Linked DNA regions of Homo sapiens: region 2 is linked to region 1. Evidence: promoter capture Hi-C in human tissues and cell types (Jung and others, 2019). All regions are on one chromosome and are shown on one strand. Each heading gives the region's core, a stretch centred on a gene start or on the middle of the fragment in contact. The rest is flanking DNA. Distances are from core to core; before and after follow the strand shown. Region 1 holds the start of HSD17B2 (hydroxysteroid 17-beta dehydrogenase 2). Region 2 has its middle 190 kb from the start of MPHOSPH6.

Region 1 (7,029 bases), core at 1,745-4,244:
TTACTTTTTCTTACTGTAATTATATTGTCTCTGAGGCAACAGACTTTTGAACATCTTAGCAAAATGAAATAAAGGGCTCAAAGGGGAGAAAAAAGTCATTTTTTTAAATTTGTCTTTGTAATTGCCTCTCACCTGGGTCCAAAATTAAATACAAACTAAAAGGAGCTTTAGCTGTTTTGTGTTCTCTTTTAAGTATTTTTATTGTATGAGTAATGTAATCACACCAGAGAAATTTGAAATCCAGGAGAGAAAATAACACGTAAATAGTCTAATCCAACCATTAACCAACTATTTCCTTTATAAACTATTTCCTTTCATTTACAAACTATTTCCAGCACACTAATCCAACCATATACAAACTATTTCTTCCAGCTGTTATCACAGCTTTTTGCCCAGCCCAGGAATCTATGCATTTGACGTGGCTGTAGACTTGTTCCAACCCTGGGATTTCCTGTGTGTTTTCCTTTGGCCCAAGCAGTTTTCCATGTAACACAGTCCTTGTGGCTGTCATTTTTAATGGTTGCACATTGTTATACCCAGAGGATGTACCATATATTATCACCCTTTTTGTTGCTTTTGATATTTAATATTAATCTAAATTAAATAATAAGATTGTGTTGAATGTGCCATTTTGGTTTTGCTTCTACTCTTTTTTTCATATTTCAGATTATGTCTTCAAAATAAATTTCCAAGACTTGAATTATCAGATAAAGGAACCATATGTATGGTTTTGATGTACACTGCCACATTTTTCTTTGGTCCTGCCCCACCACAATGCGTGCTAATCTATGTTATCATAAGCCAATCTGGAACAAAGGTTATTCCAAACTCAGCGTGGCTTCTTCATTCTTTAAAGAGTTGTGGTCTAACAAAATGAATTCATTTTAAATTTCTCGATTTCATACAAAGGTCTTGAGGCCTTGTCTAGGATGATATGAGCACATAGCATTCCTCATAAAAATGACAGAGAACTTGAAAATAACAAAGAACGTGAAAGTGACATTTCAGTCATCCTTAAATATATGTAGTGCTCATCTTAATTCTAAGCTTTCTTCATTGCCATAAGCATTTCATGCAGGGATTAGTCCTTGAGCTTGAGTTGCCTAATTGATTCAATCATCCTCACTCAACACTAAATGCACGGCACCTTTCAGTGGCTGATGTGGGCTCACTGAGTTGGGTGCATATTTTGTGAGCATTAATTAACACCTGCATCTTGAAATGCAGAGGATAAAGAATGTTGACAAAATAAACAAGCAAGAAGGGATTCCCATTTTCTCAGCTACCCTGTGGTTTGCCTGAGCTCATCCTAAGGTTTCATAACAGAACAGGACACAGAACAGGAAAATTGAGACTCTCTTACAAATTTCACCGATAAGCCATTTGAGAATTCTAATAAAAAAGTGGAAAATCCAGCCAGACTCCCAGATACATGATTCCAGGTGATATCAGACATTCTTGCAGATAAACATCCCATTGACTGAATTTTCTCCCTCTAAACTTTCAAAAATTAATTTAAAGAAGCTTCTTTTCTGTGGCTTGTCTAACCCCAACAAGCACCAATTTGCATTTTGTTTCAAGAAAGCATTTTACTTTAACCCAAAAACAAAGTCTGTTTCTCTGCAAATTGTCAAGCCCCAGATTTTCTCCCAACCACATCCCCATGCCATTCTTGCCTTCACCCTGAGGATCATGGTCAGAGGGGTGATGATCTCCCCCAAATGATTCCACAGCTGATTTTTTTTTTATTTGGTAGGGCTTTCTGGGTTAGGATAACGCTGGATAATCCTAATTACAGCCCTATCCAAGCTTAAACTCCATAACCAAGCAAAAATTTTACAACTCAAAGAAATTTAATTTGGCCTCACACTTGCAATGGGGAAACACACACACACACACACACACACACACACACACACACACACAAACAAGGGAAAAACTGGCAGCTCAGCTAACAGGCAACTGAATGTTGGACACGATGCCAAGTTGGTCCAATTAAGAAACATTAGAGGTCTAATGAGGAACAGTTCAGACAGGACACAAGGTTCTTGACAGCAGCCAAGCAAACTGCAAAGTCTCCAGCCCAGGTAAGTGAATCCCTTCAATATTTCAAAACAGCAAGGGACAAGTAGAACTTGGCTTGTAAGCGTTCTTGCATACCTAGGGAAGAAGAGTCCAGGTGGAGAACCTGGCCAAACAATGATGTCAGAACAAAAGTCCATTTAAGCCTAAAAAACAATCTATGGGACATTCCTGGGTACAATAGAACACATGAAATATTGCCATTTTGCCTATTAATATTTATTCCTGGGAAATTTTAACAAAATCATTGTCTGGGTGCACTTCATCCTCTCCTTCCCTCCCACTACCAGCCCCTTCAAATGCACCTCCTGGAAAAAACGGAACGAAAACAGTGTCATGAAAAATACTTGGGTGAGGGCTTTCATTTACTCCATGCCAAGTATTTTATTTTTAAGCCAGATTTGACAAAGTCCTGCTAAGGCAAAGCAAGTTTCAGATCATACCCTCAGTGAAAATTGTAGCACCGTCTGCTTACCTGTCACCAGGACTGCCTTCTGATCCACAGGTAACAATTCTTGGCCAGATAAGTAAGTATACATGAGGAAGCATGACACCGAGAAGAGGATCAAGCCCCAAAAAGGGGACAGGATGAGCAGGCAGACTGCACAGAGGCCTGCCAGGCAGACCATCCAGCTCCACAGCTGCCCTGAGCTCTTCTTGTATTTGCAAAATACTGTCCCACATAGTACTGTGGGGACAGCCAGGCAGATCCATGCTGTGTCCGAGAAGAAAGTGCTCATTCTCAGTGACTTGCTGCACCTTCAAGTGCTCAGGGCCAGTGAGTCTAGCGGGCAAAGGCTGGCTGGAGGCAGCCTGAGTTCTGTGAACAGAGAGTCAAGAAGGGAGGGGAGAAAGCAGCCCCAGCCCCTTTCAACTGAGCATAGATTAAGCATAATCATATTCCCAGTGGGTAATTTAAACCAGTGTGCACTTCAACATAAATACCAAGGCACTTCCTATTTGACCGCTCTCGCCCCTCCCCACCCCCTGCATACACAACACATGCACATACTCACCCACAAACACACACCTTCTATTTTTTTTTAATGACAGTCCACCTCTGGAGCGATGACTAACTGGATAATAATTGACAGAATTTGAACTGCATGGAGAATAACAGGAAGATCCTCTAGCTCACAGGAAAATACTGTCTTCTTCAAGAGCCTGCAGTATGTCTGGGTGCTGAGTCCTTTTTCTGACTCGGGAGTGAGTGAGAGTGTGTGTGTGTGTGTGCGTGTGTGTGCATGCATGCATATAAATATAGGCAATCGATGAAGTTTGGAAAATAGATTCTGGAAGGGAAGGCACCTCTGATCTGGTCCATAGCTTCAGGACTCCTACAAATCCCAACTGAGGCAGGCTGAAGGGTTGGATGGAGAGGGATATGAAAGTAGAGGAAGATATTCCTTGGTAGAGGAAAGTGCTTTGGTCTTGCCTGAGTGGAAACATGCCAGGGAGAGATAATAATGACAATTAACTAATAGCGGCTAATATCTATTGGTAGTTTTTTGTGGCAGAGGCTGTGTATAGCTGCTTATTTGTTCTTTCTCTTTATTGTAAGCCTATTCTATGCCAGCCTCCATTCACTGGGACTCCTCTCATCCTCCTTGAATACAATATCCTTATGAAGTTGATTCTAGTATTATAGTAATTTTACAGGTGAGGAAACCAGGACACAGAGAGGGTAAGAGACTTAGTCAAGATCACACAGCAGTGGAGTCTTGCAGCCTGATCTCAGAGCTGTATGCCCCTAAGCATTCTATTCCACTGCCTGCTTTAGGCAAAAAAAAAAAAAAAAATTAGTGCATTATGTGCTAGATCTTTCCTACTTTCACCCCATTTCAACCTTATAAAACTGTTTGAGGTGGGTGTTATTATTATGGTCAGTTTACAGAGAGAAAAACTGAGGCTGGGAAAAAATAAATCCCTTACTCACAAGCGGCTTAAAAGCCAGCACTCTGCAACTACAGCACCACCTAACCGTGCTAAGCCAGAGAGGGGTCACCGCACCTGGGCTCAGGGCGTGCCCCATGTGGGCCACATGCCTGGCTGGAGGGAGGCAAGGTTGTGATAAAGGCTGGACTTTGGCATAGCTAGAGAGAAACATTCTCTATTTGAGGTCAGTTTCCCTCTATTCAAATCTAATCTTAACTCCACTACTTATTAATTACATAGTCTTGGGAGGGTCACTTCACCTCCCTAGATCTTCATCCCTTTGGCTATAAAATAATATCATATCCTGCCTGGAACAGTAGAAGGAACCTCATAAATGCTAGTGATTCATGTTTTTTAAACAGGAGGAGAATGAAGAATAAGAGGAAGTCGTGTAAAACAAAGTGTCCAGTGGAGTATAGACTTGTCTCAAAACACGTGCTGGAGTTAAATGAGGGGCAGGAGGAGGAAGGGAGAGGATGCCTTTTGTGGATGATGTTGGGGAGGCAGGACTCGGGAAGGAAGGGACCCAGCAGCGTATCCCCTGTAAAGGGAGGTGAGGCAGAGCCCACCTGGGCTCAAAGCCAACTCAAGACCCAAGGGAGAAGGGGTGGGAAGCAGTGTCTTGTGAACCATTACTGTGCTGTGGGACTGTGGGGTTGGACAACAAGGCAGTTATGAGGGTCTGCGTGGAGTGATGGCAACTGTTGTCTGCCCTCCCAGCCACATGGACATTTGAGTCAGGGAGACGTTACCAGCTCCAGGCCAGGAAGCTTAGGGGCAGGGATCTGGAATTGCCTTTGGCTAGCCCTGAACTCTCCCTCCCTCAACAGACCCCAATTCCTTCCTGGGTGCCATCTGAGCCACAGGGCACCTCTCACAATCCTTGTGGCCTCACCAGCCCAGAGCATCCTGGCAGTTAGCTCCGTTCGAAAAACAGCTTCCAGGTGGGGAGACAGGACTAGCTATGGCTCTTCGCTGAGAGTCTTGGCATTTGGTCAGTGGCTCCCACATTTGGGCTGAGCCAAACACCTGCGCAGGCTTCCTGCCAAGTGCACGCCCACTTGAGAGAGGTGGCTTTTCTCCTGGAGGCAGCCCTTGCGAGTTCCCAGACCTACTCTGTCCTGGGGCTCCCAAGGGGAGGGTAAAATCTATGAGCAAAAGCCACCCTCAGGCCACACAGAAGTCCCATGAAGGATACTCCCTGAGCCCTGATGGTGAAGGGGCTGAACAGTATTAAGAACATGAGCTTTCGGGTCTCACAGACTTCTAAATTGAGTTCGAATCCTGGCTTAGCTGTGAGGCACTGGGCAAGTTACCTGCCCTTCCTAAGCCTCAGTTTCCTCTTCTGTAAATTGGCGGTAGGAGGAGTCTTTCTTCCAAGGGCTGTTTTGAAAAGTGAATGACACCATTCTTGCATCGTCCCTGGCACTTACAGGCACTCATGGATGGTAGGCACTTTTCTCATTGTTGAGAGTACCCACTGCCTCTTAGCCTTTTTCCTCTGAGCAGAGAGAGAGGTTCTTGACAGCTACCTCCTCACTCATTTATTTCTTCTTTCAGTTCAGCACTCGGCTGTTTCCTTTGTCATCCTTCAGATATCTGCTTAAACATCACCTCCTGTCACCCAATCTGAGTATCTCCTATCAGCACGCTTTATTCATTGCCTTTGTTGCGCTTAGCTCAATCCACAATTATATATTTACTTTGATCAGTTTAAGAACGTTTTCTGTCTCCCCTACTAGACCATAAACTTCATGAGGGCAGGAACCTTATCTGTTTATTGTTTTTCCTTTACTGTTCACCACGTGCACAGTCCAGTGCCTGGCACATCACATGTACATAATTAATATTTGTTGGAAAAATATAGGAAGAATCACATCTCTATTGAGAGTCTTCTAGGTGGCCAGTTCTGCACCAGCCATGGAGGAATTCAGTAGTGAACAATATAGACCCGGTTCCTGGCCTTGCAGAGTTGAGGACGCAGTGCTTCCAGGAGGCCTGCTGCAGGAGCAGAGACTAGTGGGGGTGCACGGTGGTGGAAAGGAAGGCTATTTACCAGTTGGGGAATATATGGAATTGCAGAATCCCCAGGTGAGAACTAGCCCAATCCTTTCTAAGCCCTGAATGTCCTCATCCCAACCTCAGGGTCAGTCCATCTCAGAGCTACCGCTGAATGAAGATTTCCTGCATCCTATTGAGCTAAATCGTGTCCCTTGTTTGTCCCCACCATTTTGTCGTGAAGCTATTCTCGAGGCCATCATGGCTTGGCCAGTGTCCCCTTGCTTGCAGGCTTGCTCTCAGCCTTCCAGGGAAAAGGAGCCAATTGGACCAACTCATTCTTGCTAATGACGCCAGTGGGTCAATGTGTCATTTCCTCCTGCCAGCAGAGGGGCCTTTTGGAAAATGCCATCTGAAAACAAAACATCCTACCCAAAAGAAAGGATTGCCGCCCCCCCAAAAAAAATTGCTGGGCAAAAAATGCTGGGGAAAAAAAAATGCTGAGAATCCTCCAATGTACACTTTCTTAGAATTGGTGGATGTTGAGTTTAGAAGAGAACTTGAAGAAGGAACTTCCCATCTAAAATGGGAATTCCCTCTGTAACATCCCCACCAAGTGGTCATCTTGTCTATTGCCAGAACATCTCTGAGAACAGGCACTTCACTTCCTCTGAAGGCTGATTTTCCCATTCAAGATGGCTCGGGATATTAGAACATTCTCCTCTAGGTCAAATTCATCTTGACGTTTGTCTTCCCACTCCACGTGGAGTCAGAGGATGTCTTGTTCTATTTCTTTCAGATATTTGAAAGATATTTCAGAGCTCAAACATTTTTAAAATCACATTGTTACAATAATTGAAGAACATTTTCCTATGATGAGGGTAACATAATGACGGCATGATTTGCCAAGCAGAGAATGACTGTGTGTTGATGTCATAGTGACCCAAAGTTCAGGACATGGACAGGGTGGTACCAGCCATAACAGATCATCTCAGGGACATCACAGAGATCTTG
Region 2 (7,029 bases), core at 2,736-5,235, 320 kb before region 1:
CTCAAACAGCCACCCTGGAAACCCAAAAAGGAATGACCTACCCACAGCCTTGAAACTAGTTATCTAGTTTTATCCCAGGAGAGCTGGGGTTTTTTTGTTGTTTTTTGTTGTTGTTGTTTTTGAGATGGAGTCTCGCCCTGTCGCCCAGGCTGGAGTGCAATGGCATGATCTCAGCTCACTGCAACCTCTGCCTCCTGGGTTCAAGCAATTCTCCTGCCTCAGCCTCCCAAGTAGCTGAGACTACAGGTGTCCACCACCACACCCAGCTAATTTTTGTATTTTTAGTGGAGATGGGGTTGCATCATGTTGGCCAGGCTGGTCTCATACTCCTGACCTCGTGATCCGCCCATCTCGGCCTCCCAAAGTGCTGGGATTGCAGGCGTGAGCCACCGTGCCCAGCAGAGCTCAGTTCTTTTTAGGATGGAGAGGGAACTCAGTTTTGGATGGAATGGGGAAACGTTTAATGCAATGGGAGTAAAAAGGTAGGAAAATGGGCCAAGCACAATGGCTCACACCTGTAATCCTAATACCTTGGGAGGCTGAGGCAGGCAGACTGCCCTGAGCTCAGGAGTTCGAGATCAGCCTGGGCAATGTGGCAAAACCCCATCTCTACTAAAAATACACACACACACAACACATACACACACACACACACACACACACACACACACACACACACATTAGCTAGGCCTGGTGGCATGCACCTGTAGTCTCAGCTACTCAGGAGGCTGAGGCATGAGAATCGCTTGAGCCTGGGAGGCAGGTGTTGCAGTGAGCCGAGATCGCACCACTGCACTCCAGCCAGGGTGACACATTAAGACTCTGTCTCAAAAAAAAAAAAAAAACAAACAAACAAAAAAAAAGTAGGAAAACCAAGAGTTGCCATCTAGGTGACCAAATTCTGTTTCTTCTTTTGTAACAGCCTCAAGGAGAGTCTACTGGTGATCTCCCCAATACTACAGTCTGCTTGTTCCCCTGCTCAAAAGCCTTCTCTTGCTCCCTGTTGCTGTCAATAGAAGATAAACCTGCTGGGTGTGCCCTGCAGGCTCTGTGTGATCTGGCCCCTGTTTACATCGCCAGTCTACAGTCTCTTTGCTTTATCCCTCACTTTGCTCCAACACGTGTTAAAGAGTAGTTCCTGTTCTCTTACCAGAAAACTTACAGGATTATTCTTTTAAATGAATTTCTCTACTTGGCTATTATTAGTTTCCAAGCCACTCTAGCCAGTGACAACAAATGTGATGGCTTGTGTATTTACGTATTTTCTTACAGTTCTGGAAGAACTGGTTTCACCGGGCTGAAACGAAGGTGTTGGCAGGGCTGTGTTCTCGCCAGAAGCTCGAAGACTCCTTCCTTCCTTCCTTCCTCCCTTCCTTCCTCCCTTCCTCCCTTTCTCTCTTTCTTTCTTTTTCTTTTTTGCCTTTTCCAAATTTTAGAGCAGCATCCTTTGCATTCCTTGGCTCCTGGTCCCTTCCTCCATCTTCAAAGTAGCCAAGCATTTTGCTTCAGTGGTCACATTCCCTTCTTTTATCTCAAATCTCCCTTCTTCTTCTTATAAGGACACTTGTGATTGCATGTAGGTAATCCAGGATAACCTCCCCATCTCAAGATCCTTATTTAATCACAACTGCAAGCCCTTCTTGCCATATACGGTAACATTCACAAGTTCTGAGGGGTTAGCACCTGGGTATCTTTTGTGGAACCCGTGATCAGCCTACCACAACCACTTCCCATATGTCTGTCAGGGATCACCCATATGTCAGTTGCTCGAGGAGGTCCTCACTGTCCCACTTCTCTTCTCAGCCAAAGGTTATATATCTCTTGCCATCCCCTGCTTCCCTCCACATTGCACACACTATAGTATGTGACACCTGTGACTGGCCTGTCCCTCTGACTAAACCCATCCCCAGATGGCAAGGGAAAGGTCTAATGCATGGAAATGTAAGTCACTTATGAAAGACCACATGAAAGAAGTGTGAAGCATGAAGCTACAGAACAATAGGTATAACATGAGCACTGTTTAAAGAGCACTTGTGTCTAGAAAGATGCGACCTGACTTTGACCTGTGGTTACATCTGGAGAGAGGCATAGGCTTGATGAGGCAAGAATGGCATGAGACTTCTTTTTCATTCTGGTGTTACCTTTTAACATGAGCATGTGTTCATGAATTTATTGTATATAAAAATATTTTAGAAATTAAATAGCGGCATATTTCAGATTCTGTAATGTTTCCCCATTTTCTGTTTGAACAAACAGTTGTTTTGTATGTGTCTGCAGTGTCCAACAGGGCCAAGTTTGAGATCTTTCCAAGAAGACCACTTAGTTTTAAAGACTAAGACTTTCTGAGACTTCTGCCAAAAGCTAAAATTGGTATCCCAAGGTGCCAAGTTCTGATGGTCACTCTCTTTTAAAGGGATCCATGTGGGGTAGAACAGGCAGATGAACCCGAGTCTCTAGTTAGTGAGGACTGCATGGAGCCAACAACTGTCAGAGCTTGAGGATGCCACACAGAGCTGGAAAGACTGGGCATCCACCCCTCCCAGAGGAGGGAAGGGGATCCATGGCCATCACTTTCTATGGTAAATGTTACTGACCAGCCAGCAATCAGCAGATGTCAACAGGCTTGAGTCAAGCCAATTGCTCTAATTAAAACATCACTAAATGCAGAAACACTGACTCAACTCAGCCAACATTTGCCTTTAACACATGGTGCAAAGAAGCAAGGGGATGCCCAGAGAAAGCCATTTGCTTTCTGAGCACCTTCTACACGCAAGTGCTCAGAAAATCCCATGAGCAGTCACGGGAGACAAAGCTGAAAAGATACAGGGCAACGACGACACTACCAACATGAAATTTCTAATAAATATGTTAAGGACAAGAAACAGGCATGGAGAAAATATTCCTCATGCATACAACAAAGGTTGATTATCAAATGCACATTTAAAAATCTCCCTCAAATGAATAAGAAAAAGGCAAGCAATGCAATAGAAAAGTGAGCAAAGGATAAGAACAAGTAATTCACAGAAAAGGGCATTCAATCAAACAGCCTGCAAATACATGAAAAAATGTCCCAAATCACCGTAAGATTAGGAAAAGGTTGATGTTGTTCTTGCACTCTATTTATAGGAGCACAAATTTTTAAAGTAGTTTTGTGAAAAAATTTGGGCATAAGTAAGAAACTTTAAATTGTATATACCATTCCACTCTGCTGCGATCAACCCTAGGGAAAAATACATATACCTATGTAAAAAAGTGCGAAACGCATTTTCATTGCAACATTGTTTGTTACTGTGAAAATCTAGAAATAACCTAATGATCCAATTACAGATAAATTGCTAAGCAAATTATAAAGCATCCACACTAGGAGATACAATAAAATGGCGATACATCATTGTATAGTCACATTAAAAGATCTCTAAGATATTCTGTAAGCATTAAAAGGGTATTGAGGAATTATATTTATAAATTATTTCTAGATACTTATATTTAAGTACACAGACACTAATCAGGAAAAATATAATCCAAACTGCAAATAGTAATAACAAAATTTGTTCTTTTCAAACTGTTTTCCCCAATATAATTGGTACAAATATGGTTTAACAGAGCACATGGAAAAAGAAATTAGAAATATTTGCTGATCATAAAAGCTTAAGATCAATATGCAATTATCACAAAAGCTAAAACAATGTAAGTTACACTAACAAAATAAGTCCTTAGAATTTTAAAATGATAGTGGCTGGTGACCTCTGAGAATATCTCAATTTGCAAATTCCATCCCTCTTCATTCTACATCACTTCTCTTACAGCATTTGTGAAGTTTACTTATTCTACTTTTCTATAAATTACTGAAAATACAATGATAATAGGTCCCAGTGTGATTCGGGATTTTTCTATATATCACTTTACTTAGATAATTTGTTGCTTTATGTAGTTTGTAGCTCTTTTACTACGTGCCTACAAATATGGGAACTGTGTTATCTTCCTGACAAACTGACTAATATGAAGTACACTTCTTTATTTCTGTTACTTCTTCTCTGTTTTGATGTCTATTTTGTCTACTATTTATATATAACCACATCAGTTTTCTTAAGCTTGCTATCAACTGGCTGTGTCCTCACCCAAATTTCATCTTGAATTGTAATTCGAATTGTAGTCTCTACATGTTGGGGGAGGAGCCTTGTAGGAGGTGATTGGATCAGCAGGGTGGTTTCCCCCATGCTGTTCTCCTGATAGTGAGTGAGTTCTCATGAGATCTGATGGTTTTATAAGGGGCTCTTTCCCCTTCACTCTGCGCTTCTCTCCCCTTCCACCTTGTGAAGAAGGACATGTTTTCTTCCACTTCTGTCATGACTGTAAGTTTCCTGAGGCCTCCCCAGCCATATAGAACTGTGAGTTGATTAAACTTCTTTTCCTTATAAATTACCCAGTCTCAGGTATTTCGTTATAGCAGTGTGAAAACAGACTAATACAATCATCTTCCATCCTGTTGCCTTAATTCTGTGTCTTTAAACTGTTTCTCTCACGAATGGCATACTGGTTAGTCTCACATTTTATCCAATCTGACAAAATGAAGTATTTTATTTATTTATATTTCATGCAGCTTGTGGTAAAATTATGTTTAAGTTCATCATTTGGGTATTTGTTTTCCATTAATTTCATTTACTCCGTTTATTCCAACTGTTCCTTTGTTCCTTTTTTCCTCCATTATTTTGGAAAAAATGGGTATTTTTTAGCATTCCAATTTCTCTCCTTTATTTGACTATTTAGTTATATCATTTCATGCTATAATTTTAGTAATCCTCTAGAGCAATGCTGCCTAATTACAATGTGACCCACATATATATATTTACAGAATATCTAAACTTCCTAGCAAAGTTTAAAAAACAGATGATATTAATTTGATAATGTATTTCATTTAACCCAATATACCCAAAATATTATCATTTCAATATGTAACAAATATAAAAGTATTAATGAGATATTTTGTCTTCTAAAAGTACATTTACATTGTCTTTGCAATTTGACATAAATTTTATACCTACAGCATATCACAACAGTTAAAGTTAAAGATAGGCCTACCAGAGCAACCACATTGTGTTTCAACAGAGGATAGTTACACTGTGTCAGTTTTTAACATAAATTTAAATTAATTAAAATTATAAATGTACTTCCTCAGTATCACCAGCCACATTTCAAGGGCTTAATTGCCACAGATGGCCAGTAGATACTCTATTAAGCAGTACACTCTAATATGTAAGGTTAACTTATCACGGTCTAACTTAAAATAATACTATGGCATTTCATGCACAATGGGGCACTCTTACGATAGCATAATTTATCCGTTTTCATCCTTTGTGCTATTTTCACATATCCTTTTCTTCCACTTACATTAGAGATTCTACATAATTATTATTTTTGCATTAAACATCCAGTAGTCTTTTATAGTTTAACTATATGATGGATATGCATTAAAAAAATAATTTCTAAAATTAGATTTTTGGCTTGCCTAAATAGTTATGCTTTCTCAGGGTCTTCAGTTTTTATTGTAGACCTGGGTTCCCTTCTGTTATCATTTCCCCTTAGCTTGAAGAACATCTTTCAGCATTTCCTGCAGTGCAAATATGCTGGCAAAACATTCTTTCAACTCTTCCTCATTTAAAAATGTCTTTAATTTGACTTCATTATTAAGTATATTAATGCTGGATGCAGAATTCTATGTTGAGATTTTTTTATTTTCTTTCAATTCTTTAAAAAGTAAAAAAAAAAAAAAAATTCAATGGAGACTAAAGATATTCCATTGTCTTTGGTCTCCATTGTATCCAATGAGAAGTCAGTTTCCATTCTTATATTGTTCCCCTGTGTATCCAATGTGCATTGATTTCTCCTCTAGCTGATTTTAACATTTTCTCCTTAGCTTTTCTTTTTGTCAACTTGACTATAATGTAGTTTTGTTTCAGGTTTTGTTTTTTTCTTTTTATCCTACTTGGGGCTCTCTGAGCTTTTCTTATAGCAATGGGTTACTATTTTTGATCCAATTTTGAAAATTTCAGTCCATATTTTTTCACATATTTATCTGTCATTCTCTCCAACAGACACTCTGAAAAAAAGTTTGCTTCACCATTTAACACTGCCTTTGAAGTTCTGTTAAACTTTCATTTTTCTTTTTTCCTTCTGTTGCTTCAGTTTGAAGCTCTATAGACCTGTCTTCAAGTCTTGGTGCTGCTAGATCTCTTCTGCCAAACAGTTAGCCAACTTGTCAATGCAAAGGAATAGTTCTTGGAGAATAATAAAAGTGCTGCTTCAGTGAACACATAAATGATAAGAAAGCTAAACATTTTTATTGCTGATATACAGAAAGTTGGAGTAGTCTGGATAGAAGCTCCAGGAAGCTACAACACTCCCTTAAGCCAAAGCCTCATCCAGAGCAAGCCTTACCTCTTCAATTCTGTGAAGGCTGAGAGAGGTGAGGAATCTACAGAAGAAAAGCTTAAAGCTAGCAGAGGTTGGTTCATGAGGATTAAGGAAAGACACTCAGTCTCCATGATATAAAAGTGCAAGGTAAAGCAGAAAGTGCTGATGCAGAGGCTGCAGCAAGTCATCCAGAAGATCTAGCTAAGATAACTGATGACAGTGGCACTGAACAACACATTTTCCAAGTAGACAAAACAACTATTAGAAGAAGATGCCATCTAGGACTTTTATAGCTAAGGAGAAGTCAATGCCTGGCTGCAAAGCTTCAAAGTATAGGCTGACTCTCTTGTTAGAGACTAATGCGGCTGGTGACTTTAAGTTGAAGTCAATTTTATGGATCATTCTGAAAATCCTAGAACCCTTAAGAATTATGCTAACTCTATTCTGTCTGTGCTCTATAACGGAATAACAAAGCCTGAAAGATAGCACATCTGTTTATATCACAGTTTACTGAGTATTTTAAGCCCACTGTTAAGGCCTACTGCTTGGAAAAATAGATTTCCTGCAAAACATTACTGCTCATTTACAATGCATCTAGTTACCCATCAGTTCTGATGA

What was found. The method cuts DNA at HindIII sites, captures the fragments that hold promoters and counts their contacts. A contact is called where the count stands out against the background at its distance.
Region 2: a contact is called between a fragment that was not itself captured here and the fragment with the promoter of HSD17B2 in region 1, in 1 of the 25 tissues and cell types used here (spleen).

The regions. Positions count from the first base shown.
Region 1 is chr16:82,031,218-82,038,246 of GRCh38, reverse strand. It overlaps HSD17B2 (hydroxysteroid 17-beta dehydrogenase 2), which reads right to left and starts at 2,994. Exons shown (of 5, transcript NM_002153.3): 1 at 2,558-2,994. The coding sequence starts at 2,822. The HindIII fragment of the contact is 4,836 bases long and covers 1,287-6,122 here.
Region 2 is chr16:82,353,065-82,360,093 of GRCh38, reverse strand. No RefSeq gene overlaps it. Among named protein-coding and RNA genes, the nearest start is that of MPHOSPH6, 190 kb to the right of the region's middle. The HindIII fragment of the contact is 5,251 bases long and covers 1,360-6,610 here.